6 separate regions of the Homo sapiens genome follow, and regions 2, 3, 4, 5 and 6 are each linked to region 1. The links are contacts of gene promoters, found by promoter capture Hi-C in blood cells and fetal thymus (Javierre and others, 2016). All regions are on one chromosome and are shown on one strand. The core of a region is centred on a gene start or on the middle of the fragment in contact, and the rest is flanking DNA. Distances in the headings are between cores, read along the strand shown.

The links. Contacts are between HindIII fragments. The CHiCAGO score rates a contact against its expected background, and 5 or more counts as called.
Region 2: a contact is called between a fragment that was not itself captured here and the fragment with the promoter of MAFB in region 1, in 3 of 17 cell types (M0 macrophages, M2 macrophages and M1 macrophages). The highest score is 8.9, in M0 macrophages.
Region 3: a fragment that was not itself captured here is called in contact with the fragment with the promoter of MAFB in region 1 in 4 of 17 cell types (M0 macrophages, M1 macrophages, endothelial precursors and 1 more); the score reaches 18.1 in M0 macrophages.
Region 4: a fragment that was not itself captured here is called in contact with the fragment with the promoter of MAFB in region 1 in 1 of 17 cell types (M0 macrophages); the score reaches 8.1 in M0 macrophages.
Region 5: a contact is called between a fragment that was not itself captured here and the fragment with the promoter of MAFB in region 1, in 1 of 17 cell types (M1 macrophages). The highest score is 6.5, in M1 macrophages.
Region 6: a contact is called between a fragment that was not itself captured here and the fragment with the promoter of MAFB in region 1, in 1 of 17 cell types (M1 macrophages). The highest score is 5.3, in M1 macrophages.

What each region holds. Positions count from the first base shown.
Region 1 is chr20:40,686,336-40,691,179 of GRCh38, forward strand. It overlaps MAFB (MAF bZIP transcription factor B), which reads right to left and starts at 2,901. Exons shown (of 1, transcript NM_005461.5): 1 at 1-2,901. The coding sequence starts at 2,515. The coding sequence ends at 1,544. RefSeq lists silencers at 2,764-2,833, 2,854-3,163 and enhancers at 3,114-4,091, 4,092-4,844. The HindIII fragment of the contact is 7,144 bases long and covers 2,146-4,844 here.
Region 2 is chr20:39,874,994-39,879,837 of GRCh38, forward strand. No RefSeq gene overlaps it. Among named protein-coding and RNA genes, the nearest start is that of LINC01370, 130 kb to the right of the region's middle. The HindIII fragment of the contact is 6,081 bases long and covers 1-4,844 here.
Region 3 is chr20:39,891,886-39,896,729 of GRCh38, forward strand. No RefSeq gene overlaps it. Among named protein-coding and RNA genes, the nearest start is that of LINC01370, 110 kb to the right of the region's middle. The HindIII fragment of the contact is 1,525 bases long and covers 1,176-2,700 here.
Region 4 is chr20:39,935,625-39,940,468 of GRCh38, forward strand. No RefSeq gene overlaps it. Among named protein-coding and RNA genes, the nearest start is that of LINC01370, 66 kb to the right of the region's middle. The HindIII fragment of the contact is 3,074 bases long and covers 810-3,883 here.
Region 5 is chr20:40,046,832-40,051,675 of GRCh38, forward strand. No RefSeq gene overlaps it. Among named protein-coding and RNA genes, the nearest start is that of LINC01370, 45 kb to the left of the region's middle. The HindIII fragment of the contact is 1,257 bases long and covers 2,190-3,446 here.
Region 6 is chr20:40,141,007-40,145,850 of GRCh38, forward strand. No RefSeq gene overlaps it. Among named protein-coding and RNA genes, the nearest start is that of LINC01370, 140 kb to the left of the region's middle. The HindIII fragment of the contact is 3,756 bases long and covers 671-4,426 here.

The sequences.
Region 1 (4,844 bases), core at 1,651-4,150:
ACTATACAACTGAAGAATTGAAGGGGGGGGACACCACCAAGAACTCTTCCTACTATCTCAAAAGCAGGGAAAGAAACGCAATGCATTGGTCTAAAGAACGCACTTGAAAGTTGCAAAATTACTTGCCAATGTTTGGGTTTCTGGTACATTCTGAGCATAGCAGTTGGTTCAGTGCAGTGTCTGCTTACCAGTGCACTGCCAGGGTCAGGGATGGCTAAGCCTCTCACCCTAGGAGCGCTGTGGCTCCTACAATTAGCGCAGGCCCAGAGGGTTCAGAAGGGACCTCAGGGTGATTCTGGTTACAATAAAAAGCAGAGGGGAGGATCTGTTTTCCTTTCCTTTCCTTTCTTATTAAGGGTATCAATTTGACCATAAGACAAGGCTGTAGTCCAGAACACTCCTCTGGGGTGCGGAGCTTGGCAGCTTCCCTGCCCTGCCCTGCCCTTGTACTGGGACCTCTCGGTTCTCTCTCTCAGCACCAACAAGGTTGAAAACTAAAGCGAGAGAGGAAAAAGAGGACCGAATGGGGATAAGGGAAGGAAAGAAAACATGCAACTTCCAAGTGTGCCCCAAGACAAAGTTGTTTTCTGATGCAAAATGCCCGGAACTTTTTCTTTTTTTTTTTCTTTTTAACTTACAAACAAAAATACCGTAATAATAAACCCAAACAAAGACCCTCAGCTTGCTGCCACGTTCTCTATGCGGTTTGGCGGGGCGGGTATTTACAAGCCTACAGCTGGGACTGAAACCCCGCACGCAGCCGCCGGAGTTTCCAAACTGCGATCCCTTCTCACCCAAAGAAACAAGGGGAGTATGATCCATGATCAACAACATGCTAAAGTTAAACAAGAAAATGGTACAAAATAGAAATTATTACCATACATGTCCAGCATGCAGGATTAATATTTTTAATGCAGATTTTTTGTATTTTTCTATATAATCGAGCAGGCAATAAAACTGATGAGATTTGGGCGCCGAGCGTCCTAACTGAGGCCTGTGTCTCAGGGCTGAGAGCCAGTGTTCTCCGAACTCTGACAGACAGGTCCGTCTGTCCTTCCTTCTTTCGCTCAGCCTCGCCTCTCGCCTGCCGGGACGCCAGAGTCCCTCTCCTTTCCTCGTTGCTCTCTTCCTGGCGCGGACTACTCTCCGGGCAGCAAAGCAGCTGTCCCGGCTTAACGCGCAAAGTTCAGAAAGCCAGGAGTCTCCAGATGGCCTTGGTGACTTCTCGGGACTATGCCTCGCCGCCCTTCAGCCTGGAGAGAAGTTACTCCGGGACCTCCCACCCTCTCGTCTCTCTCTCCGGCTCTGCTCGAGTCTAGGAGGCGGCGCTGGCGTGCGCTACTCTCGCCTTAGCCAAGGTCCCCTGCCCGCCCGCGCACCCGCCCGTCGCCCGCGGCCCGCGCGCCCTTCCTCCCTCTCGCTCAAGTCAAACAGGTCAAGGCTGGGGCCGCGGCAGGGACAGGGTCCGGGGTAGTCTGGGACTAGGGACGTGGGACAGGGAGTCCGGGCCGGGGCAAGGGCGGGGGCCAGGACCGGCCACGACTCACAGAAAGAACTCGGGAGAGGAGGGGCTGTCGCTGGTGGAGCCCGCCTCCCTGAAGCCGGAGTTGGCGAGTTTCTCGCACTTGACCTTGTAGGCGTCTCTCTCGCGGGCCAGCCGGGACACCTCCTGCTTAAGCTGCTCCACCTGCTGAATGAGCTGCGTCTTCTCATTCTCCAGGTGGTGCTTCTGCTGGACGCGTTTATACCTGCAAGACTGGGCGTAGCCCCGGTTCTTCAGGGTCCGCCGCTTCTGCTTCAGGCGGATCACCTCGTCCTTGGTGAAGCCCCGCAGGTGGCGGTTCAGCTCGCGCACGGACATGGACACGAGCTGGTCGTCGGAGAAGCGGTCCTCCACGCTGCCGTTGCCGCCCGCCGCCGTCGCCGAGGCCGTCGCGTGCGGCCCGGGCCCGGGGTGGCTAGTGGGCAGCTGTTGCGCCGGGCTAGCGGCGCTGGACGGCGGCGGCGACGCTTGGTGATGATGGTGATGGTGCGGGTGAGCGTGCGGGCCCAGCTCGTCGTGGGCCACGCCGGCGCCCGGGTACGCGTGGTGCGGGTGAGGGTGGTGGTGATGGTGGTGGTGGTGAGCGCCGCGAAAGCTGTCGAAGCTTTGCAGCGGCTGTGGCACTGGGTGCGAGCCGATGAGCGCTTCCACCGCGTCCTCGGGCGTCAGGTTGAGCGCCTCGGGGTTCATCTGCTGGTAGTTGCTCGCCATCCAGTACAGATCCTCGAGGTGTGTCTTCTGTTCGGTCGGGCTGAAGCTGGGCGACGAGGGCACGGAGCTACACGGAGTGCTGAGCGGTGTGGAGGACACCGAGCCGGCTGGCTGCAGGCGTGTGCAGGGCCTGCCCGGACGCTCCGCGCGCCCCAGTGGCTCCTTCTTCACGTCGAACTTGAGCAGGTCGAAGTCGTTGACATACTCCATGGCCAGCGGGCTGGTGGGCAGCTCTGGCCCCATGCTCAGCTCCGCGGCCATCGCTGAAGCGAGGCGCAGCCGCCGCTGCCGCCCGGGAAACTTTGCGGCCGGCCGGAGCGCGCCGAGCCAAGCGCGGGGGGGAAGAGCGGAGAAGAGCTGGGGAGGCGGGGAGCGAGGGCGCAGCGGGCCGGGGCCGCCGGCCAAGCCTTTGTCTGGGGACGCGGCGGCGCGCCGGAGAGTCCCGAGGCTGCCTGCACCGCCCCAGAGCTCTGGGCTGTGCCCGCGCAGGGACCGGGCCGGGTAGAGTCGGGCGGGGTGGAGAGGCAAGCGGAGCGCGCGGTGGGGCTGAGGGGAGGCGTGGGGCGAGTGCCCGTTGCTCGCTCTCTAGCTCTCTTGCTCTTACGCTCTCTCGCTCGCAGCCGCTCGCAGCTCGGCGGTGCAGCTGTGCTGGATCCGGCGGCGCCGCAGCCTTTTATCGCCTCCTGATGTCACTGGGGTGCGGGGGCCCGGGCGGCCCGGTGCGCGGGCCAATAGCTGCACGGCCTCCGCGGCCCAGCGGCGCAGGGCGGGGCGCGCCTGACAGCTCCCCCGCCCCCCGCGTCAGCTGACTGGCGGCCCGAGCGGCCCCGGAGCGGCGGAGGCCTGGCGGAGCGCTGGAGCGGAGTGGGACGGCCAGCCTGGGCCCACCCCCGTACCCTGCAGGTCCCGGCCCACGCACGCTCGCCTGGAGTGCGCGCCCCACCTCTAGGCCAAATCACCGCTTTCCCCTCCTCGCGCACTCTCCTCCCTCAGTTCCCTTTGCACCCCACCCCCATCCCGTGTCACCCCCAAGGAGGCTCAGAATGAGCGCCGGGACAACGCCTCCTGGGCCCTTTGTTCCCAAGCGGCCCCCGCCCAGTGGGCGACGCTCTGTGTGTCCTCGCGGCTTCTGGCCGTGTGTGTCGTGCGTTCCTGTTTCTGGAGATCTGCGCGTATTTGTATGTTGGGGAGGGCGGGCTCGAGGCTCCGAGAGTTGTGTTCAGACCCAACTCTTAACCTCAGGGGACCTTTCTCAGGCCAAGCGAGGGCCCCTCCTGGCGGGTGCAGTCGCAGAGCCCTGAGGTTCGACTCCACTGGCCCCGCCGCTCCCCGCGTTCACCCCACCGCACAATGTTCACAGTGAAGGCGACGGGAAAAGCAGCAGCCCAAAGGCTCTGAATTCCTCTTCCCCGCCACACGCACGGAATCCTGAGCCCCCGGAGCCTCGGGGCCGAGGCCGGCCCGGGACGGTGCTCCGAGTAGCTCTCCACTGCTGGGGAGCCGGCCCTGTTTTTGTTTGAACGTTTTGTAACGATTAAGCAGATCCCGGCGTCAGCCCGCCGCGGAGAGGCTCAAACAGGCATAAAGTGCGACCCCAAGTGGCCACTGTGCGCAAAGGCGCCGCGACCGCCCGGCCCACGGCCGGAAGGCTTGGACGGCGCCTCGTACCCAGCCAGGTCTCCCCTACCTGGCCCAACCCAAGCCAGCCCAGAACGCATACTATGTGTGCACCAGAGCCCAGGACAGGTTCCCCTCGAGCGATGTACAGGTCCTCGGGTCCCGTCTTCGTACTCAGCCGCGAGCCTCGAGCCGCGAGCTCCGCTCTGGTCGCCCCGTTGAAATTCCGTGCCCCAGCGTTCGGGGGTGCCCGTCGGCTGCTCCCTGGGCCGGAAGGTCCTGGGCGGAGGAAGGCCGGTAGCCAAAAGTGGAAGCGCCACAGTGAAGCGGCCCAGGGCCACCGGGTGAGAAACCTCCCCGGAGGGCAGACGGGGAGACCGAAGCACACCGCACTAGGCATCCAGACTGGGCTTGGGAGCCGCGCACCCTCCCTACCCAGATCCAGGATGGCTAGAATTAACGGGTTCTTTCTGAGACCTCGGCTCAGGCGCCGAAACCGGATAGATCGCGAATTCGCTGGACCCGGAGACCCGACCCGCCTCCCGCGTCACCTTCTTCTTTCTAGCTTTGGGCGCGCGCAGCGAAAGGCAGGAGAGGCGCGCACTGGGTGAGTGAGTCCCGGCCGCTGTCTGCGCTGGACCAGCCCGACTGACCTCGCGCGTAGGGGTCGCGTGAGCCACACCGGTGCAGACGCGCCTAGATTATTTTTAAATGTTAGAAGGTAAAATATTTGCCTCCAATTAATCTGAAAACTCTCTATTCTCTTGCGCCCTCGGAGAGGCTGGGGTACGGCGTGGTATTGGGCCGCCTATTTTTAATAAAATGAGTGTATTTTAACTAAAACTTAACTCAATCTTGTGGGGTGGCAAATTAAATGCTGGAAGAGCGCGTCTACAACCCTCTTCGAGAAGCGTGCTCTCCGCAGAAATGAGTCGGCCGCCTGGAGAGAGAGCCTGGGCGGTGCCGCTGCGCA
Region 2 (4,844 bases), core at 1,353-3,852, 810 kb before region 1:
ACAGCAGGAAGGATTGACACTCTATCCTCACATGAATTTCCAGTGTGCTTTGAGGTTGAGCCACCAAACTCCTCCAGCAAACTGCCTTCTTTTATTTATTTATTTATTTATTTATTTATTTATTTATTTATTATTATTATACTTTAAGTTTTAGGGTACATGTGCACAATGTGCAGGTTAGTTACATATGTATACATGTGCCATGCTGGTGCGCTGCACCCACTAACTCGTCATCTAGCATTAGGTATATCTCCAATGCTATCCCTCTCCCCTCCCCCCACCCCACAACAGTCCCCAGAGTGTGATGTTCCCCTTCCTGTGTCCATGTGTTCTCATTGTTCAAAATGATGAGTTCATGTCCTTTGTAGGGACATGGATGAAATTGGAAATCATCATTCTCAGTAAACTATCGCAAGAACAAAAAAAACCAAACACCGCATATTCTCACTCATAGGTGGGAATTGAACAAACTGCCTTCTTATATCTCCCCAGACTCATGAGCAAATGGTAGCACAGGGTAAAAGCCCAGGAAGTTCATGCTGATGCCTTGGGAGGATACACAAGAGGGTCAGTACTGCTTTTACCCCATGATGATGCAGGCAAGAAGACATCCATCCTCCCATATCTGTTTACATCAGCCCTGATGCCTCATAAAACTTCCCCCCATACAGTCATTAACGAGGTGGTAACAAGGATATCAGGGGCCCAGGGGAGACACTCTGTTTGATGTTCTGGATGAAGGAAATGCAGACTTGCTCTTTGTGAAAGTATGAGGGCTAACTTGGAGGCCTGCCTGACAGTCCCTGTAAGCTCAGACATGAAGTCAGGGGAATACAATTGTGTGAAAGAAGCAGAACAGTGAAGTGTTGAGATGGCAAAATTTGGAAGCCCAAGGGCAGGGAGCAGAACAGGAAAAACAGGCATAAGAGTTTTCCATGTGGGTAACATAAAATGATTAGTGACATCCACATCAACAGAAGGCTCCCTGTTCTTTGCTTGTGGTGTGTTTTTGTGTAGACATCCACACTTCCGATCCACAGTGAAGCCTACAAAGGGGCTGAGCACTCTTCCTGCAGTGAACTTATACATGTGCAATTGTACGTGTCTTTATTTTTCTCTTTGTTATTTGTGCTGCATTTAACCCTATGGCTGGAACATTATAAATGTTGAAAACTTTGTTGAATGAATAAAGAAATAAATGGCTCAAAGATGGGACCATTTAGCAGGAAGAAGGACCTGCCAACCTTCTTTTTCTCTTTTTTGTCTATGGAACCAGACAAGGGCAAAGGATAGGGAAGTGGCACTGGGGAATTCCACTCTAGAATGTCCTTGAGACTCCCAGTCATTGGTAGGGCTGATGCTTACCGGACCTTCTGGTGCCAAAGATCAATGTCACCATAACCAGGGTAATGTGGGGAAGGCAGACCTCAGTCCTCAGCCCAGAAATGGCAAGTTCTTCTCACCCCACATCCTCTCACACTCAGGGCTGGCAGCTTTTGAATGGGGAAGGACCCTTTGTTCTACCCAAAGATGATCATCTAAATCAGACCAACAGTCCAGCTGGGACATCCACATATACCTTAGTATTCTCTAGTATTTATTAGAAATTGGGCAACTCTTTACCTTCTAGGAACAATCTGCAGTTGTGTGGAAGGATCATTGACATTGTAATATCGACAGCAAATAGCTTTTGAGCACTTATTTGCGTGGGATACTTTTAAAATCTTCTACAGCCATTATCTCATGTGTCATCACAACATCCAAGAGGCAGGAACCTTTACTCCTCTTGTTTAGTACATAAGGAAAATGAGGTCTGGAGAGGTAAATTAACTTTTTTATGGTTACAATGCAAGCTATTGGCAAATCTGAACTGAATCCAGGAATTCAGCCTTCTAAGCAACGCTCTTAAGCATTGCACTGAATAATTAGACTCATGTTTATATCTAACTTTACATCTAGCACTAGATGACTTTGTGGTTTTAGGTCTATTACATGCACTAGCCTCCACTGTTCTTATCTATAAATGGAAAACATAGTGTGTCCCACGATTCTTGTAAGGATATGTGCTAGACACCTCATCAGAGCAGTGTCCAGCATATAGGAGGTTACTTTCATTCCCATCACTTTGGTCATTAGGAGAAACTCATGAGGAATGTTTTGGTCTCCAGTTCTGCCGAGTCTGTCTCTTCCTGGATCTGCGAGTATATATGATGGTACTCTTTTCCCCTGGCAAGAGAAGGGCAGCTGGGAAACTGTTGCCTCTCAGGATAAAGGAGAATTATCTTCGAGGAGTGCCAAGTGCGTGCTTATTCATAAAACAAACATTTATGGAGCTTCAACAAGAGTCTGGGCAGCAGCAACTATAGCGTCAGGGACTGTGCAGTTGGTTCATTAGAAGCTGAAGCCCCCCTGGAGGCCTGCAGGGAGCGGGCCTGGAAGGGGGAGTGGAGTGCAAAGGCCAGCTGGTTCTCTGGCAACAAAGTCAACATCGCCCCAGATGTCTGCCCTGAGGTTGAGGCCATTAGCTCCAGTTTACCTGTTCACTTCATTTTTCAAAATTAGCCACAAAAGCCTCCCACGGAAACACAATGGGCAGCATTTCTCAGCGGGGGCAAAAAGAAAACAAAGCATATCTTTCCATGCACTTGTTTGGAGTTTCTGAATGTCCCCCAGAGCCCTGGAGGCTTGGCAGGCACGATTTGGATTGCTCCCACATGGATGTCTGTGGAAGCCCCACTTTTCTTTCCTCTCCCAGATTCACCCCAGCTAAGGCCAGGCTGTCCCACCCCTGTCATCAGCCTTGCCTGAGCACCCCAACCCTAAACCCAGGAAGACAATGACTTTCTCATTTTCTTGCTCCTTTTTCCTAGGGGATAATATTACAGTTTAAATTCCTGGGTTGACTTTGAGAGTTGCTGGGAGATGGTATTAGCTTTCAACCACCTGATTTAATCTCTTCTCTCACTCCCACCTTCCCCCACTGCTGTTCAGACAAGGCAGAGGGCAAAGGGGAGAGGTGAGGAGGTTAAACGCTTGACTGCAGAGACATCTTTTCATCAGGTTTTGTTGAGAGCAGGGCAGACAGGAGTAGCCAGGGTGTCCGTAGGGCAATGACAGCTTGTGTCTGTCTCTTGCTGACTGTACAGCCCCATATGAACTTATATGGGAGAAATGGGGAGAGAGGGCCAAGAGAATGTAATGATGAAAAGAAAGATGAACAAAAATATAAATACTGAAGTATAAGGCTGTGCAGTTGGAGCTGTCCAGTGCAAAATACATTTTTGCCCTAAGACAGTTCTCTCTAACCTAAAAATCAATAGAAAGTTATGCAATAACCTACTGTGTGCTAAAAAAAAAAAAAAAACTTGCCCCAAATAAAAATAAATTGAAAATATTGGTAGGAGAAAAAACAGCTTCTTTAAACACAGGCCAAATGCAAAACAAGTGAAGAGAGAACCCTCAGATGTGATTTATTGGTTTCTATTTTTAATCTTTGGGGAGTCAAGGGAATAGGAGAGATGCCAGGAGTTTGGAAACTGGATACAAGGAATGTTTTTATTTACACATGATTTAGCTACTAATTAAATGTGTCGTTTACTGTCTATCCTGCCTGGAATGTAAGTACCAAAAGGACAGGGACTTCTGCTTGCATCTTTTCCATTGAAATATCCCAGTGCAGAGAAGTGTGTTCGATTTGTAGTAGGTTTGGAACACTATGTGTTAATTGAGTAAATGACAGGAAATAGAGGTGAGTCTGCAGCTTCCCTCAGCAAGGTGTTTTTCAGGACTACTGTTTGCAGGCCAGGTAATTGTGGGGGTCTCTTCTTGGTTTGAGTCTCTATTTGGAGCTCCCAAACTTCTCTCCTCACTATGTGTGTGTAATGTATGTTTTCTTGTCTTTACTAAAGAAGTTAGTGAAAGATTTTAGTATCCTCTGACTCACCATCCTCCTGACTTCAAGAGCTCTTTCTTTCTGCGTCGTCCTTGGCTCTGGTCTTAAACTCAAGCTACTTTGGGTAGTGTAGTAGGCTGAACAACAGGCCCCAACAGGCATCAGTTCCTAATCCTTACAACCTTAAGTGTTCCCTTATTAGGGAAAAGGATCTTTGCATATGTGACTAAGGATCTTGACCTGGGAAGAATATCCTGTTTTATCCAGGTGGTTCTTAAATTCAATCATAAATGTCTTTATAAGAGAGAGAAAAAGGACATTTGATAAACTCAGCGATGAAGACAATGTGAAGATGGAGGCAGAAATTTAAGCGATGCAGCCACCAGAAGCTGGAAGGGGCAGGGAAGGAATTCTTCACTGAGCCTCCAGGGACAGTGTGTTCCTGCTAACACCTTAATTTTGTCCCAGTGAAACTGATCTTGAACTCTGGCCTCCAGAACTATGAGGGAATACATTTCTGTTGTTTTAAGACACCCAGTTTGGGGTAATTTGTTTCAGCAGTCATAGGAATCTAATTCAGGAATGCTACCCTACTCTTTTCCCTTGGAGCAGAGCTAAGGGCTTAGTCAGAGGTAAGGCTGGTCAGAACTGAAGAGAGACTGGAATTAAGGACAAGAAGTTGGAACTGGGGGCTGGTGCAGTAAAGTAAAGCCAGTTGCTCTAAGACACGAATGGTGAAATCTTAATGCTGTAACACAATATACATTTACATATTGCTCTTATAAAGCCCGGTTGGCAGCAATGGTGAGGGTGGAGATTCTGTTTCATGAGAAGGACTCAACTGATGGAGGCTCAGCCATCCTTACTGCATGATTTTATTGTAACTTTTGAGTTCAGTGGTACATGAGCAGGTTTATTATATAGGTAAACTTGTGTCATGGGGGCATGTTGT
Region 3 (4,844 bases), core at 688-3,187, 800 kb before region 1:
CTGAAGAATGACTTTGGTCTGAGGAATAAATGGTGAGTCTAGGTTTTCACATAATCCATTTGGGCTGGACTGTTGTAAAGTTCAAATGTATGAATATGACTTATATGGACTCCTACCATGGCCTCTGCTCCCTTCTTCCCATCACACAATTCTATCACTTTTGCTTTACTCTTTAGCCACAGCTTTTTATAGTACCTCTATTCTTCCATGCTGTTTCAACTCAATGACACTTTATTAGTCCATTTTATGTTGCTATAAAGGAATACCTGAGGCTGGGTAATTTACTAAAAAAGAGATTTATTTGGCTCATGATTCTGCAGCTCTAGAAGAAGCATGGCACTAGAATTTGCTTCTGGTGAGGTCTTCAGGGAGTTTCCAATCACGGTGGAAGAGGAAGGGGAGTCAGCGTGTCACACAGTGAGAGAGAAGGAAAGAGAGGAGGAGGGGTGCCACACTCTTTTAAAAAGTCAAGAGCTCATCATTACCTCAGAGGAGGGCACCAAGCCATTCATGAGGGATCCACCCACATTATCCAAACACCTCCCACTAGGCCCCACCTCCAACACTGGGGATTATATTTGAACATGAGATTTGGAGGGGACAAATGTCTAAACTATATCAGATACCATTAATAATTTTCCTTCATACTCAAATACCCTTTTCCTTGATGCTTTCTTCATCTGGTTCATTGTTGTTTTCCTTCTAATTTGCTTCTCCCAGAAAGCCTACTTTGCTATTCTGGGCAGGTGATCTCTACCATACAGTTCAATAGCACCCTAGTATGTATTCACTGCTGTGCACAGTGCTTGGCACTGTGTAGGAACTCAGTTAGACAAAATAAGGCCAGGCACGGTGGTTCACACCTGTAATTCCAGAACTTTGGGAGGCAGAGGCAGGTGGATCACTTGAGGCCAGGAGTTCGAGACCAGCCTGGCCAACTTGGTGAAACCGTGTCTCTACTAAAAATATAAGAATTAGCTGGCCATTGTGGTGCATGCCTGTAATCCCAGCTACTCAGGTGGCTGAGGAATGAGAATGACTTGAACCCTAGAGGAAGAGGTTTCAGTAAGCTGAGATTGCACCACTGCATCCAGCCTGGGTGACAGCATGAGACTCTGTCTCAAAAAAATAAAAATAAAACCAGCTGAAAAGAACTGGATAGATTAGATAGAAGAAGCTTTGAAGCAGAGGTCAAGTTCAAAGACTGTTTCTACAATGATCCTAGTAAGAACCAGGGTATGTCTGTAAACATACATGAGGGATATGAGGAAGAAAGATTGCTGAGAGATAATTCTGGCATGTGGACAGGAATTTCAGACACCAAAAAGATGGGAGGGCCTTGGATTCCACATAATCTAAGAAATACGCCCTCTGTAGTCCTCAAACATGTTTTGCAAGTGTTTGGCCATTTTTTCATAAGGGAGTTTTTCTAGTAATTGGAAAATCTATATGAGGAATTGCTTCCAGTTATTCAGCAAGTCATTTGCTCAACAAATGAACACATGCAATGTACTGTGTACTGTTGACAGTACAGCACAAGGATCCAGGGATGACTAAGGCTCCTCCCCTACCATAGAAAATCCCAGAGACCAGTAGAGGAGACAAGTGCTTGAAACAAATGACAAAAGCTACTGTGTTAAGTAGTGAATCTCCTCTTTTCCTCAGGCCCACTTTGGCCTCTGACAGCACAGGGTTGATGAGTCAGCCTCTTTTCATGTGAAAACATCTGTCTGGTCCCCCCAAAGACTTCTCTAAACATTCTTCTGATATGAGGTAATTATTTCATATTTGCTGCATTTGTTGTGAACACTGATAATCTCATGAAGATCTATTAAATGTCAACGTGTTCCTTTCTGATCTACTTAACTAGTTGATGCCATCTTTAGATGTATGTATTGTAGTAGTAGTTACGGAAGGGACTTGTAATAAACAGATGCAATGATAAATTCAGTAAAAACATAGAGAATCATTTATGTTTCTCAATTATAAGTTAAAAGGCAAAGCCTTGGTAACTGGATTTTCTTCCATTTGGGGAAAGTGTGATGTAATAATCCTTCATTTTTAAGAAATAAAGAGAAATGGGTGGTTTGTTCAGTTCTTGATATAAAGAAGTCAACTTTAAAGCAACATTTTATTAGAACCATAAGTTTTGTTTGAAAAAATTTAAAATCCAGAGTTTATTTTCCTTTGGAGTTGCTGCAGAGAGTCAACAGGAATCGAGATAATTTTTTTTCTTGTATTTGTGCTCACTTATTAAACACATATGTGAGCTAGATTCCTTGCATAGGTGCAAAAGGATTTGGAAGAGGGGGGAAGGTGCAATTTAGTTCATTGACCTGCTTCCCTGCCCTCAGGAGTCTTTCAAACAGCTGTGAGAAAGAGGAAGAGGGGAAAGGAGTAATTTTGCACTCATATCCAGATGTTCATTTCAAACGCATCCTGAACAACTTTTGCATGGTTTATTACATTTTCTGAAACCATTTTTCACAAGCCTGTTTTCTCAGCTGGGAAACTTCTGGTGTAGAATTTTCAAAAAAATATTGCATTTGGCATTATAAGAAAAAAAGAGCTTTTGAGACATTCAAAGAACAATCTGTTGGCCTTGGTCTGCAGAAGCAGGACTTCAGGAATGTAGGCATTTTGTACCACCCAAAATATAGGTAGACGAAAGATCTATTCTTAACATTTGCTTTACATGGAAGCTTGAGAGATCCTTTAGCTTGATGATTTCAATGATGTGCTATCTTAGGTTGGCCTGAAATATCACAGAAAAGAAACCTAGCTGGGGACAAACAGGACCAGTGGAAGAATCCATCTGAACCCAAACCAAACCAGAAGCTTCCACATGGCACTTCAAACACAGTAGTTCAGTTTTGCAGAACTCTGTACTATTCTAGTCCCACCCATCTTCTGAGGTAAAGTGGGAAAGAGTGGAAGAAAAATAGTTATGAATGCTAATTAATTTCTTAGAAGCCTATAGGATGCCCTTCCCATGGTTGGTCCCATCCATTCCCCTTAAGATCCAGGACCTGACAACAGAGGAATTGAGGATCTAGAACAGCCCCTAGTCCCACCGCAGAGTGGACTTGGTCTCCTGGCCAATTGCAGGCAATGAAACTCTTCCTTCTTCATCCTTTCTACATGTGGAATCAAACCTAGAAATACCCTTAGGAAGGAGTGGATGACCCAGAAAGATGAGTCCAAATGGAAAGACTAAGATCTGCTCTTAAAGAAAGGAAATCAAGCTGCAGAGGTCAAGGAAATCAGGAGAAATGATAAAGCAAAGTTTTAATGTGGAAGAAATAGAAGATCAGGGGTTTTAGAACCCAAACCAAGTCTTGGATACGTTTCTTAACCTTCCTGACGTTCAGTTTGTCCACTTTTAGAATTGAGCACGCACCTACGTCTTTATACCAGAGGGTGTCAAAATGAGAATGGAGTGGTGTGATGTATGAATATACCATAGCATACCATAGGTCCTCAATATTGTTTAGTTCTTCACACCTATTCCCCAACTTAGAGAGGTAGCACAATAACGCTAGACATCCGTATTTCTGTAAATATTTCTGTCGAAGTTCTGTGTGTGTCTCTGAGATATTAAAGATATTATCCAGTAGGCAGTTGGTTATACTAATGGTGCAGTCAAGAGAGAATCTGATTTGAGGATAGAGATCCAATAGACACAAGCACAGGGGTGATGGCCGCACACATGAGCATCTATGAGGGCACCCAAGAGACTAAAGGGAGTGAGAGGTAACAAGGACATAAAACAGAGTTCCCAGGACACCAGCCTTGGAGGGACAATCCACATAAGAGAACCCTGCAAAAACAAAGGAAAAGAACACTGAACAAAAACAATTAAAGTAGAAATTAATAAGAACAAGGCCAAGAATGCTTCTAAAAGAAATGAGAGGGAGGATTTTCTAAATTTTAAAATAAATATAACCCAAAATGTAAAATACTGTGGGAAACAATAACAGTTGTCCAAGACCACATATTGCACTATGAAATACTGGGAAGTGAAAAAAGAAGTAAAAAAATAAATAAATAAAATGTGCTAAGTTTCTCAACTAAAATAGGACTGAGTCAAAAGCTATTGTTTCTTTTTGACCTTGATAATTAGAGAAATATTGGATCAAGTACATTATTTTGCAAAATTTAGTAGAAATAAAAAACAGGATGATTCCTCCCAAATTACTGCAGGAGATTAAAGAAATCAAAGCAGAGTTCATCTAGCTAATGACAGGAAATAGGGGAAATGGTAGGAAAGCATAAAATCCAGAAAACATAAAATAAGATCATAGAAGGAAGTGCAAATGTGTCTCTTATGACATTAAATGTAAATTATAATGCCACCCTTTAATATTTAGGAACCATCAGTTCAGGTTAAAAACAAAGATGCACCTCTTCAAAGGAACAATTTTTAAAAAGTGTCTCAGAAAGTTTAAACATAATATATCTGGAAAATATGCATCAGGAAAATGTAAATAAGAACAACGGATGTGTCAGTGTTAATATCACATAGAGTAGAATCTTGGGTTGAAAAAAAAAGATACAAAACAGTACAAGAGTTCATTTATTTGTAGTTATATATTCTATTATGGATAAATAACTATGATATAGTTTGCTGTTTTTAATAACAGATAATTAAATAGATATATAAATTAATCTTTTGGAAATTCAAAGGAAAATGTTTGGGATATGTACACACATATGACTCTCAACTACATAGTAAATAGACAAAAATAAATAATAATAGATGAAGTTTTCTTAAGATGATAAGAATATACCAAACATGTATTATACCTAGAAAATGAGTACTCATCTGGCCAGCTATGTTTCAG
Region 4 (4,844 bases), core at 1,097-3,596, 750 kb before region 1:
TAACTGGTATGCCCTTCATTAAGATTTTATGGTTTTATTAGTGAGTCAAGTACCTTCATTTTTCAATTTATTCCTAATTAGTAAGGAATTTTGTTGCTTGTGTGAGTAGGGCATTCTCCCCCATTCCCATTTATAGCTGTTTTTTTGCAATTAGATACTTAAGGAAGCTGTGGATGTTTCTTTATATATGTACACAGAATGTACAAAACATGCATTACCATTGTACCTTGTTAGTTCTAGAAGTGCGTGTTTGTTTATTTGGTTATTTATTAGAGCTTCTTGGTTTATATTGGTATATAAGCATAAAAATCAATTGTCTATAAAAATAACTGACTTTCTATTATTTTTCAGTTAGCCAGGGTGTAAAGAAAGTAGCAATTGTTGCTCAAAGTATTCTCGAGCCCAACATGATTCATCACTTAATTCTGAAATGTCACTGTAATCTCATTTCAATATGAGGAAATCCGTACAGTGTCTCAGAGGCGCCTGTTCTCCATCACAAGGAGACGACTCACAAGAGATCAGGAATGCATTTTCTCTAATTGATTTTCCTTCTAGATGTGCATGCCAGTTCTGTCACTTTCTAGTTCTGACCATGAACAAGTTATTTGGCCTCCTTAAGGCTTAGTTTTCACATCTTTAAAATGGAGAAATAAGTTTTACTTGAATGGCTCTTTCAAAGGTCAAATAAAATATTTAATGAAAATAAAAAGCTTAATGGAGTGACTGACACATAGAAAGGACTCAGTAATTATTAGCTAGTAATAGTTATATCTTATACATGGTGTTTATACCTAAGACAGTGCAAAAGCTTCATGTTTCAGAATCAGCTACAAATCCAAATTGTACCTTTCTCCTGAGACCGTAAGTTATTCTGTCTTGTTACCCATTGCTGTCACAGAGCGTGGTTCCTAGAAACAACTGGAAGCCATCTGCAGTGAGTTTGGGCAACCTCATGGTTGTGTTGAGTGATCTGATCCCACAGCTCAGGCATCTGACAGCTGCAGTATTCGTGCCTCACTTTTCTGCCTGACTCTTGCTCTTGGTGAAAGCAGTTACTGCACCACCACTCTCTGGACTTTTTCCGCTGCATCGTCCTTTTGTCTTTTCAATATGGAACTGAGATTCTGTGAACAACAGGGCCATTTTACAGCCTATAGGCTGCACTCTGCTTGGGGGACTGAGCATTCTGAGGCAGGTTCCTGCCCTCATCCCGTTCTGGTCCCATATCATGATTGTTCCAGTGAAGAAGGTGTTGGGAGGTGCCCCATAAACCTTCCATATTTAGGGTCTTCTGAGCTGGCAGCCCACTGAAGACAAACATGGCCATGTGTCGATGGTTGTGGAAAGAGGATGCATATTGTCCAATTGACTGCCACCAGCATGGAGCATGGCATGCTGGCAGAAGCACAAGATCCAGAAGAGGATAGAAGGATCCCAGGTCTGGGGGAAACTAAACTGTTTCATCCTTTGCTAAGGGCTGGGGCCCATCAGGATGCTCTGGGCTGTGAAGTCAGGGCAGGAGAACAAGACTGTGGAGGAAAATGTAGTCAGAAAAGACAGTCTCAGCCCACTTCTCATCTGTTTCATTCAAGCCTGAATCATGCCTCATCTCTCCTCATGCTCAGCAGATAACGTTGGATCAACTGTATGTTCATTTAAGTCTCCTCAGCGTTCTTCCTTCTGATCCACCCATATTTTTACCATCATCTCCTACCAACCTACAGGCAGCCTCCCTGACTAACATGGATCTCTGTTCTGTTCTGTGCAATTTTTATTAATCCATCTTTGTTCTTCACATCTTTGTACTACCCTTTTCTTCCAGTATGGTCAGTGTCTTCACCATCTCTGCCATCGAAGTTTAATTCCTATCTCTCCCTGGGGATCCCCTCTCCAGGGACTGCTATCCCAGTCTGCCTCTCAAAATTAAATTCTAAAGACCCCACAAAATTTTTGAGGATTTTTCCAATTGTCCTAAAAGGTTATAATCTTACCTTACAGGGAATTTCCACAGAACCACTCACATTACATTCACATTTGTAATACATTTATCTGCATTACTAGACTGGAACTTCCTGAGGTCAGACACTGGGGCTTAATTATTTTTGCATCTCTAGTACTGCAAAGGGTAGGTTGAACACATATTGGTATTTGAATAACAAAGAGGAACATTTATATGACGATGGTATATGGAAGGAGGACATGAAGAGCCGCTCAGCACCACTAGTTTATTAGGAAAATGCAAATTAAAACCACAATGAGATACCCACTAAAATAGCTGAAATGAAAAAACTCTGACACTAGTGCTAGCACTTTTGCAGAGCACCTGGGACTCTTGTGAATTGCTGGCAGAAATGCAAAATCACACAGCCATTTTGTCAAACAGTATGACAGTTTCTTAAGAAGTTAACATACACTTACTGTATGACCCAGCAATTTGTCTCCTAGATATTTACCTAAGAGAAATGAAAACTTACGTTTATCAAAAACTAACTAAACAAAAAATCTCCCATTCCTGTTACAGTGGCTTCATCCATAATTTTCAAAAATTAGAAACAACCCCGACATCTTTCAACTGCAGAACTGATAAACAAGCTGTACCAAGTCCATGCAATGGAATACTATTCAGCAATAAAGAAAACGAACTACTAACATGAATAACAGCTGGATGAATCTCAAATGCTTGAGGCTGAGTGAAAGAAGTACACTCAAATAGTTTCATATCACATAATTCTATTTAGATGACATTCTGCAAAAGGCAAAAATGATAGGAAGGAAAACAGATCAGAGGCTTCCAGGGGTTGAAGAAGGGGTACATTTTGGGGGTTTGATATTAATGTTTTGTATCTTGATATCAATGACGGTAAAATGTTTCTATATTTTCTAAAATTCATAAAACTGCATACCTAAAATGATTTTGTCTGTATGTAATAATATACTTTATATCCAATAAAATATAATGGAAAGAAAGTGGAAATAGTGAAACCTCTTTCTTATCATCAATGGGCCCTAGAGAATCAGCAACCTATCCCTAGCTGGCTCCCACAAACTCACTACTTTACCCCCAGAAGTCACTGAGATGGTGAGGCTAGGATGTGACTATCACAATCTGTTCCTGGGTCCAAAGTTGAAGGTAGTAATGACTTAAAGTGTTTGATAAATGGGGAGAAAATAAAAGTGAGTAGTCCAGAGTTATCAAATAATTTATGTCCAGAACATGAACTCAAACATTTGACTGACATAAATTTTATTGAGTTTTCTTTACATTAATCCAACTCAGTAGGCCAATGGATAGAATTCAATAAAAATAATGTCTGTCAAAAGGCTGACATTATTTAATTTTAAAACAGAGTTAATCAGTCTTTACTTTGGGCTCTCCTAGCCCCCGTGTATACCCCTTGATTGCAGTATTTATTAAAATGTATTTTAATTATGTTTATATCCCAGTCTTCCCCACCAGGACTTTGGGTTCCTTAGGGTCAGGGATTTTAAGTTACTGATATTTGCACTCCAGGTGCATCACAAAGCAAGTGCTCAATACATTTTTTGTTGTTGTTGAAAAAATGAAAGGATGAATGAGGGCTCATGGTTTCCACTACTACATATGTGACATGCCCATCTCCCCATTCTATCTTCTGCTTCTCCATAATTTGCCCACTGCCACACATCTCTAAATTCTGCAGACCACCCCCAAGCTGTCCTTCCTGTCTCATAGCTGCAGCAAAAGCCCTCTTAACGCCCACTCTGGTTCCTGCTCCTCTTACAATTCTGTACCCAGACATAGACATCTCACTGAAACATTAAACAGATCATACCGTGCTCAGGCTTAAATCTGCCAGTGGTTTCCAATTAGGCATAGAACAAAAATCAGATTCCTTAGTTAAGCTTTGGAAGCCCTACAGTTCCTGACCCTTTCTATCTCTGTGACCTTGTGTCTCACTATCTGTCTTGGCCAATATGCTGCTTACCACTGAATTTCCTTCAGGGTCTCACACATGCTTGGTTGAGTCAGCCTCATAGCTTTTGTGTGAGCAGCTCCCTGACCTAGAATGTATTTTGTTCTGCTCTTCATATTGCTGGTTTCTTCTCAGCATGAGATCATGGCCACAACATCCACTTTTCCAAGAGGCCTTTCCTGACACAATCTAACCTCACTCTCTAACACACTACCTCATTTAACTTCTCTGTATAACTCTCATTCCAATGGGATATATATGTTATTCATTGTGTATTTGACAATAATTCTGTCTTCCCTTTTGGATAATATGCTCTAAGACAGCAGGAACTCTGTCTTAACTCTGGTCTCCTCATCACCAACACAGAGTAAATGTTTAATGAACACTTGTTAAGAGATGAACAGATGGATGGGTAGATGGATGAATGGACAGATGGATAGATGGTTGGATGGATGGATGGATGGATGGATGGATTAATGGATGGATGGATGGATAGATGGATGGAGGGATGGAGGGATGGAGGGATGGATGGATGAATGTAATGGACAGGTGGAAAGGAATGAATGGCATCTTTCACGGAAGGATAGGAACAGCTATTATTTTCTAACAAACAGAAAACCCAAATGACCTTATCCATAGACATTTCTTCTACTCTGTGTTACACTGAAATGTGTTGCAGACCACCTCACTGATGCCTGTCTTTATCTGATGTGCATTATTTACATTAATAGAAGAGGAAGCAGGGAATCAGACACTGACTTCAGCAGGGTGGATAAGGAAATTGGAAAAAAATAGTAGGGAAAAAGAAATGTGGGGATGTTACATACTTTATAATTATTACAGCTATTCCAGATCTGTACAACTCCCCATTCCCTCTTAGATGGCAAT
Region 5 (4,844 bases), core at 1,568-4,067, 640 kb before region 1:
TGTATTAGAACCCTGCAGGTTCCATTCCAGATAGACAGGTGAGGTCATCATGGTGGATGTCTCATGAAGGCTTCCAGAAACCTCAGAAACCTAAATTAGTTCTTCAAGCATTTGGAATGCTGCTGCTCTCGTAAGCATTTGGAATCCTGCTGCTGTGGTCAAGTAGTGAGGCTGACTCCAAGAAGAGTACTTTTTCATATTTTCATTATTTTCACCACTGGAGTGAACACCAAACTTCTGAGTCTTGGGTAATTATGAATATACTAACTTGGGACCAAAGGGTGAGGCCATACTGTCCTTGCCATTTGGCCATTAGAACTTAATAAATGAGCCCCTATTATTAAATAAATAAAATACAATGGGCTTGTACCTCCTTGCCATACTAGTTCAATTTTAACTACTTTATTAATTGAAATATCAGCAGCAGTAGGGTGCTAACTGCCCAGATTTTACCAAAGAGTCACTAACCATTGTGGAAGTAACTTGTGCAGTCTGCAAGTCAGGCCCATCTTATAAGTCACTGCATGGATAGTTTTCCTGCAGTCACCAGCAAACCTGTGATATTAAGGGTCCTCTTCCCTCAGTAGTCATTTTCTGTTGGATATCCATTCCAATCAACTGCTGTATCCTTAGGTAACCTTAATTTTTCTTGACAATAGGCATTTCTAAAATCCTAACTAACTGTCACAAAGAAGGTACATGTTATGGAGCTAACACATTTTTGAAGAATCAAATGAGTGCTAAGGAAGGCAGGGCTACCATTGTTTGGAGGAATCATCTGATAAGTATTTGATTTCTTCCAAATGATAAGTCCTGTCTCCTTTCTGATTCACTTTTTTTTGAAAAACGTATAAAATGATATATTTTGGGCTCAAATAAGGTCAGTTAGAAATAGCTGGACTCATACCCAAATAGTTTGTTCTAGTTGTGACTAAAACCCTCAGTTGAACTTTTCTCCTTAAGAGAAAAATAACAACTCTCTATATAGACATGGTGATTTGAGGAAATTCTCTGATGTAGCTAATGTAAACAATTATGTATCATTGAGTCTAGGAAACTGGATTCTCCAAATTATTTCTCTTGTAAAAATGTATTTGTTAAGTAAACTGTAGTCCACACCACTTCCTCAGCCTTCTCCAAAGAAACACACTGCTTGAACAATCAAAGGATTACAAATTTGAAAGAGAAATTAAAGTTCATCTCACTGAACTCACTACCAACAGAAGTCACCATTTATTCTGAAAAAATCAAGATTATTTCCCAGGGACTGTTTTGCAACTAGCATTGTATTTAGGGAGCTTGAAGAAATATATGCATTTATTCACATTTTAACTATATTTCTTGGCATTCTTTCTGCATCCAGAATTTTTATTTTCTTCTTTTTTTCCAAATAGCAAACAAGCTTTGATCTTATATCAGTAAATTTATTCCCAAGGTGTCTTAGTCGATTTTGTGCTGCTATAACAGAATACCACAGACTGATTAATTGATAGTGAACAGAAATGTATTGGCTCACAGTTCTGGAAACTGAGAACTCCAATATTGAGGTGCTGACATCTGGCAAGGGCCTTTTTGTTGCGTCATTACGTTGCAGGGGGATCACGTGGTGGAAAGGCAAATAGAGGGTTAGAGAGAGACAGAAAAGGGAACCAAACCCACCCTTTTGTAAAGAACCCACTGCTTTGATAACAGCCTTAATTCATTTGTGAAGGTTGAGTCCTCATGGCCTGATCACCTGTTAAAGGTCCCGCCTCTTAACACTGTTACAATGGCAATTAAATTTCAACATGAGTTTTGGAAGGCACAAACACTCAAACCATAGCACAAGAGTAAGCAGAAAATATGCCAGAAAGCATGGGAAAATATTACTAAAGACTCATGTCATTAGTATACAAATGAAAAGTTTTCACTTCTGTAGTTATTGTAATCCAAGATTCTCAAACTTCGTAGATTGGGAGGATTTGATTTTATACATTGTCAGTTCAATGTTGATTTGGCTAGAAAGATTTGATGTTACTTGTTTAACTATTTGAAACTGAGTGCTATCTGTGGTCCTTGGGTGCAGTGGAGGGGGAAACGATCTGATGAACTCATGGAGGAACATAGGTTCTGAGAATGAGATGCCTGATTGATACCTGGCTGAGGACTTGCATGCTTGTTCTAAAATGTCTGTTCAGTTGACCTCTTCAAGCTTAATTCACACTACATTGAAGACAAATCAGCTCTTCCTCGTGTGAGGTAGACATCCATAGAAAATACCTGAGTTATCTTATCCCAGGGATAAGATAATCTATCTGCATGCCCAATTCAAGTTTGAAAACTCCTATCTTAGATTATTTTGAGAGCTTACATCTTAAACTTTAGATTTTAACAAGAGAGAACACATTAAATTTGACAAAAAATATTCATTCCCAGAAGATATTGCAAAAGATTTCTGATCCTTATATTCACTAGTTATTGAAATTCATATTTGGTTTGTCCTTTGGGCATAGAGTTGTTTGAACTAAGAATAATTTATTAATTTAGAAGACACCAATTATTAGTTTTTAGAACAGACCTACTCTACAATTTTCTAACTTTGATGATTGATACATCTCCCCAGAACCTGCCTTAATAATGACTACTCAAACCAAAGATCTGGCATTGTTAAAGGAAGAAGTAAACCATTTTTTAAAATAATCAGAATGTGTTTAAAGAAACTATACTCTTAAAAATATTCATTTTTAATGAGGGCCATGGAAGTTCATCAGCTTCAGAGTCACATGCAATCCGACCCTGGGTGGTTACACTTGTCCCAAAATCTGAACCTCCTCTGTGAAGCATTCGAGACAGAACCTTGTTATTTCTCAGACTTTGGAAAATGCATTGTATTGATGTTATGTAAAAAGCCAAACCTCTGTTCAGTGTAAATAGTTACTCCAGGGCCAACAATCCTAGTGCTTTCCTTTTTTAAAAATGCAAATCCTATGTGATTTTAACTCTGTCTTCACCTGATTCAACTAAAAAAAAGTATTATTTTCCAAAAGTGGCCTCTTTGTCTAAAACAATAAATTTTTTTCATGTTTTAAGAATAAAATATTTATTTTTGAATGTGGTAGATGAAAAACTACATGCAAGATATTTATCTCAAAATTATCAAAAGTCATTGAGTATTTGTGTGCATGTGGTAAGTGTATATATGTGTACATGCTCAGTAACTATGGAAACAAACAAAATAAGTCCTAAAATTGGGGAAATCTTTGTTTACCCAGTGGAGAAAGAGGAGGAACTGACCCTAAATAAGGAAGTCAAAAATGTAACAATACAGATATTTTGAAGGGCACCAAAAATTGAGCCAGAAATCTAAGTAACTGAGATGATTGTAAATAATACACAATAATAAATATAAAGCATATAATTATAAAACCATATACAACTATGTTCCTAATTTTGTCGGCTTTTAAGAAAGCTTGTTTTCTTTAGTGTTTTCTTCTCTAGGAAGCTTAGGAATAACTACATTTACAGCTCACCTATTGCAATTGCCAATACTTTATGATATATAGTTCTGAGTAGGACTCAGATTCTATCCTTCAAATTGCTAACCAATGGCTTCCATTGACTTAATTATTGTTTTTTATTGCATCTTTAAAAATAACTGACACACATTCATTAAGAAAAAATAATGATTATATGTAAATAAATAATACATTATCTGCCTTTGTATACATCTATCTAAATATAATATCTAGGACCTTTAATTGCTAATAAATAAGCATGTTGCCTTCTTTGCACACATAATATGTATGCTGATAATCTTACAATAGTACGATATTTCTATTCTGAAGAAGGCTTTACCATATTCAACTATTTAATCTCAGGAAGGTAGTTTACCTCTAATATATCAATAGCCTCTAACTGCTCTTTGATGCCCACAACAAGTTGAGACAGGCAGAGCCTCAAGGTGGTTTCCCTAGAATAAACATTGAGTGAAGGATGTGAAGGTGAGTAGCTTATTTGGGAGATGATCTCAGAAAGCACAGCAAGGAAATGAGAAAAGAAAGGAAATAAGACAGTACGGGATGCACAATTGAGTCCATTACTGCTCATTATCCTAGTTGAGTAACTAGGGCTCAACCTCATGAGGGATATCTGTTGATGGTTACAGTACAGAGATGTTATCAAAAGGGTGAGGTAGCTGAGCTATTTTTCTACCAACTTCAATCTGTCATTGATTGAAGACTGTTACAAGGGTCATTGATTCCTTGACACTTGCAGCCTGTCTTATATGGGGGGTTAAGCCCACTCCCAAGCTCTCTAAAACATCTGTTGCAGGTGTTTTCAGGAAGAAGCCTTTAGTAGAAAAAGCAAATACCTAGGAGATATGAGGAAGGCACCAGCAATGACTGTTATAGAGAACAAGAGAGAGAACTGGTGACAAAGGCATCTTCAACCTTCCTGAATTCATCCTTTGCATAGTTTGATAACATATTATTCAGTTTGCTTTGTAGAACAGACAGGAGGTGAATAGTGGTTCAAATAGTTAGGACAATGGTATCCTTTTTTGGCTCTTTTAATTATAAATTATATTCTTAGGCTATCTGACATATTCAGACATCAGTGCAAGAAAATATTTCAAAGTCAAATGTAAACACCTCTTAGATCTGCCACTGGGGTATATTCCTGCTCCCTCTTTTTCATAGCGTGGTTTCTGGAGAGCCAGATATTATCAAGTCGTGACAGCTATGAGGGCAAAGGAGAAATCAGGAATGAGTTTTTTACACACTCTTTCTGCAGTTATTTCTTTCCGTACTTTCTATAAGGCACCGTGAACCAAATTCCATCTGGTTCCCATGCATTGTAACACT
Region 6 (4,844 bases), core at 1,299-3,798, 550 kb before region 1:
CAGAGAGAAGAAAAAGAAAAAAGGAAGAAAAGAGAAAGGCCCAGTAACAAAAATCTGAATGCCATGTATAGTTAATTAATAACATGAAGGTGGGGCATACATTTGAGGTCATAAGATGTTAGAGGTTTAAGCACGGGCCAGGTCATGAAGGGTCATAAATGCTTTGCCAAATGTTTTGGACTTTATCTCATAGGTCATGAAAACTCAGTAAGGAGATGAAATGATAATGACAAGGTCATATTTATGTTTCAGATTGTTGACTCCAGTGAGAGTGAAGAGGCCGGATGGGGGTTGGAGAGGCAGAGCTGGTGTCCCATCTGGCTCTGAACCATTTTATAGTCCAGGCAAGAGCTGATGAAGACTAAATGAATCAGTGATGTTATTGATGGACAGGAAGAGTATAAGAAACAAACTCTGCAGATGTTTTTTTTTTCAGCCATACTCATCACATAAGTGGTGAGTAAAGGAGAGAAGAAGCAAAAAATAATTCATTGATTTCTAGCTCTGGTATTGGATAGATGGTATGGCCACTACCCCATCAACAAAAAGAATTTAAGAGGAAATGCAGTTTTAAAGAAAAAAAAAGTTGAATTTATTTTAGAATATTTTGGATTTTAGATGCCAATGGTCATTAAAGTTGAAGTCATTGAATCTGAAATGCCTATCTTCAAGCTTTAGCTTTCTAACACAGGAAGGCATTTATATAAGCCAACCCTAGGGCACAGCTATAGCATATAATTCCAATAGAATATTGGGGTTCTAAATTTTTGGTATAATATACCTCATAACAGGCTCTAGAGTATCCAAAGCCAAGCCTCTCTGAACTCTGAATCCACAGGGTAAGGAGGGAAGCATCATGCTGGCCAACACACATGCAGTATTTTCTTTCTCTCATAGTCTCTGGTCTCTAAAAATTGAAGCTCATTTGGCTTAGATGGCCTAGTTTAAGGTCATTTCCTTTACCTACACCAGAGTCTAAGGTGGCACATGCTTTATCAGGTGTTTGTGTAGGCAGGGACTTTACCTGTGACCAGTATAATCAGGCTTCATAATGTGTCTTTACCTATTTGCTTAGGAATTATGTGTGGCCCACAAAACATGGCCCAGGAATTATTTTATATTCCTACTTTGACATTCTCTGCAACGACTATCAACCCTTGTCACCAGAACAACTCAAGCCGTTCTCTCTAAGACCTGAAACATACTCTGTAAATCAATCCTACTCATTCATACACTGGGAGCTACCCAGACCCCTCTTAGTTATATTGGCTGTATGCTTATCAGAATTTACCTGAAAGTTTCTCCATGCAAAATTTCTCCCCATAGAGTTATCCAAGACCAAATGATATGGGTTCTATATTTCCTCTGGAGCTGGAATCTGAGTGAATTATCCTTAGATCTTCACTGTCATTCGAGCATCACCTCTGAAAAAAATCTCTACGTTTCCAAGGTCGCCCCTGGAAATGTTTTTCTAGAAGAACCAGATATATGACTCTTCCACCTTTTATCTTTTAGAAACCAGAGCAATGCAATAGGAATGGTAATTTTGATGCCCTAACCAAAGTTTTATCAGACTGGCATCCAATCAAGGATTTAACCACTTAAATATTGTGCTTTGATAAAAGTTCTACTGAGAATTTGTGATTATTGGAGTTCTTTTACAGGGTACTTCATAAGCCATTACATAAGACACTAATTATCCAATATTTCTACCAGCAGGTGATCTTGTACTAATTAAATTAACATTGAAAACTGCTAACATCATTGATTAAGGGTCCAAATTGTTACTGTATATCAGTAACAATTAGGACAACTTCATTTTGGGCAAAAATCAAATCTGCCTTTCCCTTTATCACAGGAGATTAATTATCATCTTTTCCTAAGAAACCAGGCTCTCACCTAACAATAAAGGCTCTTGTGATTTGTCTACATTTTGGCCTCTAATTATGAAGTTTGAGGATGGCAGTCATCAGGTTCATGGAGTGGTTAATATCAAGAAATCTGACTTCAGATTTGGTTGAACATATTCAAATCTCAGCCCTGCCACATAGCAGATATATACTCCTAAGCCAAGCATGATCTTCCATTGGGCTCAGTTTCTTTTTCCATTGTACAGTAATAAAAATAGTCCCTACCTTAAAGGGCTGTGATGATCCCTAACTGAGGACAGCCTTGTAAAAGAGTTAATTATCAGCCTGACACATGAAAAGGGCTAAGTAAATGGTGGTTATTGCCATTATCAGTTGTGTTTCTCATTCTCTTGTGCTAATGATTTAATACACTTCCAATATCTCTTCCAAAAACCTTAAAGTTGGAAGGGGATGTTGAGAAGATCACCTTAACGAATCTTTAACTTTACTGAGAAGCAAAAGTGCTGACTTAATAGGATCCAAGGGAGACTCCAGTGGCTGGTCATTATACCTGGCTATTTCCCTTTTTGTAAAAGTCATTTGAAAAACATTGAATAACAAATAACCATGAAGACTTTATGATCAAAGATTCCCAGAACTACTGTGAAAAGGGGAAAAACCATGGAAGTCCATATTTCCAGCCCAGCCACACTGTGGACAGTCCTCACCTTCCTTTAGAACTTTTGCTCCCAAATACAGAGAACACCTGTGGGTGATTTGGAGCCATTGTTTTTGAGAATTATTCTCATAACATCAATTTTAAAATATATATGTTTAATCTATCACTCTCTTTGTGCCAGCCATCATGCTAAACTTATCTGCATTATCACATTCTGTCTTCATTTGAAGGAGGTATTACCATTACCTCCAAGGAAGTATAATTATTCCCATTCTATAGGTTAATAAACTGGACTCAAAGAGGGTAATTGACTTTTCCAAGGTCACCCAGCTAGTACATGATCAAGGTGGAACTTGAATCCACATTGTTCGCATTCCAGAACCCACAGCCTTAACTACCATGCACACCACCTCCATGGGTGAAGACCCTCTTCTTTCCTGTGGGCATCCTTGGGAGACAGAACACCCAGGAGCTCCTGAGTACCATTTTTATTTTGGACTCTCTGATGCCCAGGATTTTTGGTGGCAATTCGGCCACCTTTGGATAAGTTTGACATCTTCATAAAATTCCCATTAGCCCTACTGCAAAACAGTGTAAATGAGCCATCATCCAAATTCCCAAATCTATCCCTGGCCTTCACTCCTTACAATTTGACTGACAAGGTAGCCAGTAATACTATGTACCCAGAAGTTTGCAAATTAATGTCTTCTTCTGGCCCTCCCTCATTCTGTCAGAGACCCTCTCTCCCAAGCCCCAATTACCAAACTTCATCTGAAGCCTCATTTTCAATTCTCTTTTCACTAGAAGTTCCAAGTGTCTCCTAACCCAGCCTTTTCAAAACTGACCTACCCTCTGTAATCCCCAAATCTCCCTTTTCTCTCCACTCTGCCTCAAACCCTTCGCAGGGCCCACCTTCCTCAGATCCTCTTTTTCAGTACCCACATTCTACACTTGCATTGCAGCTCAGCCTCTCCTTCTGTGCCTCCCCGTCCACCCCCTTACACGCTCAGGCCCTATAACTAAGCACTCCATCTAATGGACCTTCTTACTTAGCCTCAATGTTTGCTTTCCGATACATTGGATTTATAGAGTGTTTGCCTGAATTAAAATGCGAAATTTTAGAGCAAACCAGGCTTCTCAGCTGCTAAGCTCCATCATGTACTTTAAATAAGGAGGAGGGGGAGTGTGTGTGGAGGGGTGCCTGATGCATTGACCTACCCCTGAATTACCATCTCGACCCAGGCTGCTCACCTTCCAACCCAGCTGGTGCCTACCTGGCCCTACTCACCTCCCCCAGCTAAATTAACAAAGCAGTTACTGCTCATCCGCAGAGCTCCCTCTAATCAACTCCCAGTGAAATAATATTTGCTTTCCATGCCTACTTTGAATCCCACTCACTTTGTTAAAAGATTGCCTCTGGCTGTCTCTGCTGGCCTAATCTAATAGTTTCTAGTTTGTACAAGCAAAGCGTTTTCAGCCACCTATATAAATAACTTAAGCAGGAGAGGACACTTGTACAGCCCCAGTGCAGGGCTATAGGACATGACAGATCCCACAATGACTCCTTGGCCAATCTCCTGGGGGAGCACCACCCGCTGAGTGGGAGCAATTACTGTACTCCATGAGGCTGACAGGACAGTCTGTCTGTCTATAGAAAGTCTGATGGGGGAAAACTATTCCCGTCTGTTTTCTCCAGTGCAGGTGACCATCCTAAGTGCCTCGGCCCCCTCTATACCCCTCCATACTGCCTGATCCATGGTCTCAGAGGGAGCCTGTTCAAAGTAGAAAAAGCGGAGAGGAACTAAATCAATCTATTAGTTTTCCTCTAAAAATTGTAATGCAATCAACTTTGCTTTTAAAAAATTGTGGTAAAATATACATAAAAGATTACCATAAAAGCTTACCATCTTAGCCCTTTTTAAGTGCACAATTCAGTAATGTTAAGTATATTCATAATGTTGTTCAGTCTCGCTCCAGAACATTTTTCCTCTTGCAAAACTGAAACTTTGTACCTGTTAAAATGACAGTTTCCCATTTTCCTCTCCCCCCAGCCCCTGAGAACCCCCATTTCACTTTCTGTCTCTATAAATTTAACTATTCTATGACTGCATAGAATAAGTCACACAGTCTTTGTCATTCTGTGACTGGCTAATTTCACTTAGCATAATGTCCTCCAGGGTCATCCATTTTGTCACAAATGGGGGATTTCCTTTCATTTTTCAGTTGAATAATATGCCACTGCATGTGTAGACCAATTTGAGCTTCTCATTCATCTGTTGATGGACACATGAGTTGCTTCTACCTTTTAGCTATTG